Regions from separate parts of the Homo sapiens genome. Here region 1 is linked to region 2. Evidence: promoter capture Hi-C in 16 types of primary human blood cells and fetal thymus (Javierre and others, 2016). All regions are on one chromosome and are shown on one strand. The core of a region is centred on a gene start or on the middle of the fragment in contact, and the rest is flanking DNA. Distances in the headings are between cores, read along the strand shown. Region 1 has its middle 10 kb from the start of TRQ-CTG4-1. Region 2 holds the start of ACP6 (acid phosphatase 6, lysophosphatidic).

Region 1 (2,790 bases), core at 156-2,655, 580 kb after region 2:
TCCAGGGTGGCTACATAGTAGTAAGAATTTGATTGGTGAGATCAGTTTGCAGTCCAGGAAGAGACAGTCTCCGGTGTGTGTCTTTGAAGAGGTGCTTTCTCTTCAGAGAGAGAGAGAGAGAGGGCAGGTTGGTTTTTGTGCCTCACACGGTGTGTATCACACAATGGAGTTATACATATTCAGCAGGTTTGGAGAAACGCCATTTCTGAGGGGTGTTGAGCTCATGTGCAACGGGTAAACATATATGTAACGTGCACCCCATCTTCACATTGGGAAGAGATTTTAGCATTAAAATTAGATGGAAATTGGCTCTTTATGTCAAAAGGTGAACTATAGGACATGAAGTCGGTTTGTGTGCAGTCCCTGTAACATGGCTGAAACTGGCTTGAGGTCTGCAGTTGCTTATCAGGAAAGAATGGAAGGGCACTCCTCTGTCCCATCAGAGGTCTGGTGATCTGGGTTGTAAATCCAGTTGAGAATTGCTGGGAAGATTTTGACAATTTGCCTGCTAGCTCCTATTGTTAAGGAGTTTAGCAAGAGTGTGGTTTTTCTTCTAGCCACAGAAATTTAGGAAGTTGCTATGCCAGTCCAGCCCTGAATCCTTGACCCGTAGGTAACTCTTGTTTTCTTAACCTTAGAGTCTGTCTTAGTCTACAAGGTGACATCTATTTTTGTCTCTCAGACCACATTCCTCCTGGACTAGGTGCCTGGCCAGCTTTGAAATCCTCACGTTCTGACTCAGAGAAACAGATGGGCAGTAAGTGGTGAATCCTCCTGAAATCTGGACCTTCCCACTCTTTGGTTGAAGGCCTGGAGTTTGCTTGAGTTGTCCTTTCCAGCCTTCCCTTTCTACAATGGAGGTTTTCTGTCTTTACCCTCCAGTTAAGAGACTTGAGTTTCAGGGGGAAAAAACTGCCCTTTCCACCTCTGCCTCAGGACAGAAAGTTTGGGTCACAGTCAGGCAAAGGACTGTGTGGAAAGCTTCTGCCTTTTCTGCCTCTGTCCCTCATCAGGAAGGTCTGGGTCAAGATATTGGCAGGTAGGCACCGGTGGTTTTGTTTTCTGTAGCATGCTTTTATGAAAGTTTGAACTTAGGTTTTCACTTGTGACTAATTCTTGTTAGTTTTTTTTTTTTTCCTTGAGATGGAGTTTTGCTCTTGTTGCCCAGGGTGGAGTGCAATGGCGGGATCTCGGCTCACCGCAACCTCCGCCTCCTAGGTTCAAGTGATTCTCCTGCCTCAGCCTCCCAAGTAGCTGGTTTTACAAACGTGCCACCACGCCCAACTAATTTTGTGTTTTTAGTAGATACAGGGTTTCTCCATGTTGTTCAGGCTGGTCTCAAACTCCTGACCTCAGGTGATCTGCCCACCTCGGCCTCCCAAAGGGCTGAGATTACAGGCGTAAGCCAATGTGCCCGGCCCCTGTTAGTTCTTACCTGGAAAATGCACGGAGGTACTTTCTCCAGCCCTGAAGAAAAGAAGTGATCTGCTCCCGATGACCCTTTCAGGGGCTACAAGTGACCAGGGACGCTGCAGAGGTGTCACGGTCACTACTCACCATGTGAAGGCGGCCTCGTAGAGCATTCCCCATCAGAAGAACGTCTTTATGAATCCCCTTTCCTGCTCTTATGGGAGGGTATATGAGCGATGGGTCCCCCAGAGCAGATGCACTCTGTGGCCACCTGGTGGTTAGAAACAGTGGGAGCCACTGAGACAGTGATACACAACTCCGGTGATATCTGTAGGAGTGACTACATAAGCAGGACACTGTGACCCAAAACACATCCCAGATTTTGGTCATCTTTGCAAAGCTCCTGAATTATGGGAAATCAAGCTTCAAAATCTGAGCATACTTTGAAGAAACAACCGCGTTTAGAACCACCAGCTGAGTTTCTGTATAACAGTTATGAAGCATCCTCTTGTAAATATCCAAGAAACCTGACCCACCTAACCAGAAAAACTCATAAGTAGAATGGAGAAAATGGGGATCTTTTGAAATGACTAAAATAATTTATTAGGGCACACAATTGGAAAAATTTGGTTTTAGAATCAGGCAAATTGAATGGGAGACTTACTTCCAATGATACCTAGAAATTTCTAAAAGAACTACTGAGAAAATTGCCTCCATTGAGGATTTAAACTGGGGATATCTGATGCTTTTTCTGAATTGAGAAATATTGAGGAGGCTTTGTCTCTTTCGCCTCCAACTGCTCCTTTTCCTCCTGCCCCTGCACCTGCATAGTCTCCCTTACCTGAGCCCTCCTGTCCTGCCTTGCCTCTTCTTCCATCACCATCACCTGAGGAAAGTCCCCAGGGCTCTGGCCCCTTCCCTGAAAGTTCTGTTCTGGCAGCCCCTTTCAAGGTAAAACCCACAGGAAGAGGGGAGCCTGCTATTGTGTATACTGCTTCACCATAATGTGAATTAAGAATATTGTAAAAGACTTCCCTTTTCTAAATTGAAATACATTTTCCTCTTCTCTTTCTAAAGCAGGCTCTGCTTTAGATTTAGAAGTAGATTGGAGGAGAATTTAGCAATGCACTTAAAAGGCCAAATAAATCTGTCATTGATATTTTAAATGGTTGAAAATAATTTATTTATTTATTTATTGAAACAGGTTCTCACTCTGTCACCCACGCTGGAGTGCAGTGGCTCCATCATGGCCCACCACAGCCTCAAACTTCTGGGCTCTAGCAATCCCCCCACCTCAGCCTCCGAGTAGATGAGGCCACAGGTGCATGCCACCACACCTGGCTAATTCTTCAACTTTTTATAGAGAGGAGGTCTCACTTT
Region 2 (2,943 bases), core at 377-2,876:
AACTGTTATTATGAAGAGTATACCTAACATCAATTTTGGACAATCTTTTCGACCTCCTCCAACATCAACCTGGAAGACCAACGATACAAAAGCACTCCACAGGTGTAATACCTGGGAGTTTGGGGATTTCAGGTTGCCTGTTCCTCTTCACTAGGCCTTTCTGCTATAAAAAGTCACATCCAGGAAAGATAATCATTTTTTTTTAAACTATTTGTGCTTTAGTCATAATTATCCTGACAAAACCAGACAGATTTTTAAAACATTACTGCCACAGACTAGCCCATTTTAAATTTGTTCCGACCTCAGATCCCTCCCACTATAGGTTTAGTAACCTTAAATAGAAAAGGAGAACCCTAGAATACAACACTTGTTACAAAAAAAAACTTCAGGAGATCTCAAATGGCCTCCAGCAAACCCTGAGAAAAAGCAGTTATAAAGTTTGTTTCCAAAGGCAACGACCTCTTATCCACTGTAATCTCAGTTAAGAGTGGTTCCTATCACTAAAGTCCCTTCAGCCCTTCAGCTCTGACAAACCACCTTCAAAATGGTCACACAGAAGTGCACTGCACCCTTGTATTCAAGTTCACCTAGACCCTTAATAGAAATGCTGACCTGGGGCACTACTCCACACCTGCTGAATCAGAATCTGCAACGTAGCAGGATCCCCAGGCGACTCCCATGCGTCTTAAGCAGCGCTTACTGATGGCTGCGCCATCAGGGCAAAACTGGAAGTTCCGGGGCTGTCCTAACCCCAGCAGGTCCTTTGCTCAAGAGCCTGGGGAGTCACTGGCTACTGCTGTTTTCCCTTCTTCTGGACCCAACCCGAGCCCCGCTCCGCGCGAGTAAAGCTCTGAAGATGTGTGTCAGGGCGAGACTCCTGGCCTGGCACACGGTCCTCGCCCCACCAGCCCCAGCCCGGGCCGACCTCTCACCTGCTCCTCCAGCGGGAGCGGCTTGAGAGGACTCCGAGCCCCGTGTCGAAACACGACCTGCACCATTTTCAACTTCAGCAGGCTGCGGTCGACCGGACACTGGCCATCGGCCTCCTGCAGCTCGGCCAGGGCCACCCGCCGCTGGTGCAGGCAGTACGCCAGCGAGGTCAGGACGCCCACTGGGGTCCACAAGCGCATGCTGAACACACCAGTGATCATGGTGGTAGGCCCTCGCTGCCCTCCGGGTTGAGGCTGCAGGAGGCAAACACAAGTCTTCTGCGGGCGCCGGGGCTCAGCGGGCGCCCCCAAGTCCGCGGGAACCTGCGGATGCGTACATCCAGCCCTTCAGCAAGCAGGGACCGCTGTGCCTCCCGGCCCTGAGGGAGACCCCGAGTGGGAACGGGGGAGAGAACAAGAGGTGGCAGCAGCGAAGAGTCCCTGGGAGTTTTAACCCGGGTCGGGGTTGGTCGCTCCTGCTGCACACCGGGCCGGGGGAGATCGGATCCTTATCTTTTGCCCGACGAGGAACATTAAACTTGTATTTCAAGTTTGGCCTCCAGCACTCTTGAAGGAACAGGAGCCGGCCCTGAGTTCCCTGGCGGCAGCGGCTCCACCAGCAAGGACTACTCGATTCCACTTTTCTATAAGCAAGCTCCTACCCACCTCCTCACCTACTCAGGGACCCGTCCCAAGTGGACCCGCGCACAGGAGCACGGGAAAACGAGTCCTGTGGTGACACCTCGCCTGGAGACTCAGAGCTGCGGAAACTACAACTCCCACAAGGCTGCGCGTACCGCGGCTCCCAAGAAGTGGCTTGTACCCGCCCCCCTCGCCTGCGGGCCTCGCCCCTCCGGCCCAGCCAGCCGTTTTCCAGGCGTGGATGGCCCACGGACGTGCCTGGTCCGGCAGTGGAGTGGTAGTGAATCTGTCGGGCCATGGAGTTTGCCAGGCAGGAGGATCGCGAGCGCAGGAGTAGAACTGGGTGGTGGAGGGGAGTAGTTTGAGTCTAGTTTTGAATGTAGAAGACTTCCTTCCAGTCCTGGAAGCCTGGTTGCTGCAGCGAGGAGCTGAGACACCTGCCGAGTGATTGCCATTTGCGAAACACAGCACTAGGTGCTTTATATTTAGTCATTTACTACTCCCTTCTCTGTTTTTAAAAAAATTCTCAAGCTTAAGTCATTGTAATCATGTAGAACTTTCAGGTCACTGATGTGTTTACTTCCATCCAGAATACTTCTTGTGGAAAAAGCCAGGCCTTGCCTGTGGGTGTCCCAGTGATTAAGAACCTAAGAGGCGCCATGGCTCACGCCTGTAATCCCAGCACTTTGGGAGGCCGAGGCGGGTAGATCATGAGGTCAGGAGATCGAGACCATCCTGGCTAACACGGTGAAACCACGTCTCTACTAAAAATACAAAAAAAAAAAAAAAAAAAAATTAGCCAGGCGTGGTGGCGGGCACCTGTAGTCCCAGCTACTCAGGAGGCTGAGGCAGGAGAATGGCGTGAACCCGGGAGGCGGAGCTTGCAGTGAGCCGAGATCGCGCCACACGACTCCAGCTTGGGCAACAGCGCAAGACTCCGTCTACAAAAAAAAAACAAAAAAAAACCTAAGAACACAGAACAATGCCAGCCTTACCACCTGCTAGTCTGGTTTCTGTTGATATACAGGTATCCCAAGCCTGTGTTTCCAGATCTTTGCAACAGGACACAATCTGGGACCCACTATGTGTCTATCTCCAAAGATCAAACTGGGCCAGATGTAAAGACAACATACTTACAGAGCATGGCTCCTGGCCTGAGAACAAATTCTGTTCACCAAGCTGGAAGGTTCTGAGTGCTCCCCTCCCTGATGCAGGGAGGAGGGTCATTTTGGAACACTACATATTGTCACAATTTTCTCCCTAGCCCAGCCAAGGGACTCACTTTTCAGAGTCTTATTGTGTGTGCTGATGTGATTAAAAATCGAATACTGTTTGCTATGGACTCAGTTGTGTCCCCCGCCAAATTCGTACC

The links. Contacts are between HindIII fragments. The CHiCAGO score rates a contact against its expected background, and 5 or more counts as called.
Region 1: a fragment that was not itself captured here is called in contact with the fragment with the promoter of ACP6 in region 2 in 1 of 17 cell types (naive CD4 T cells); the score reaches 6.3 in naive CD4 T cells.

Annotation. Positions count from the first base shown.
Region 1 is chr1:148,253,372-148,256,161 of GRCh38, forward strand. No RefSeq gene overlaps it. Among named protein-coding and RNA genes, the nearest start is that of TRQ-CTG4-1, 10 kb to the right of the region's middle. The HindIII fragment of the contact is 852 bases long and covers 980-1,831 here.
Region 2 is chr1:147,668,898-147,671,840 of GRCh38, forward strand. ACP6 (acid phosphatase 6, lysophosphatidic) reads right to left here and starts at 1,627. Exons shown (of 10, transcript NM_016361.5): 1 at 933-1,627. The coding sequence starts at 1,151. RefSeq lists enhancers at 475-1,418, 630-689, 1,330-1,579, 2,020-2,089. The HindIII fragment of the contact is 4,251 bases long and covers 1-2,100 here.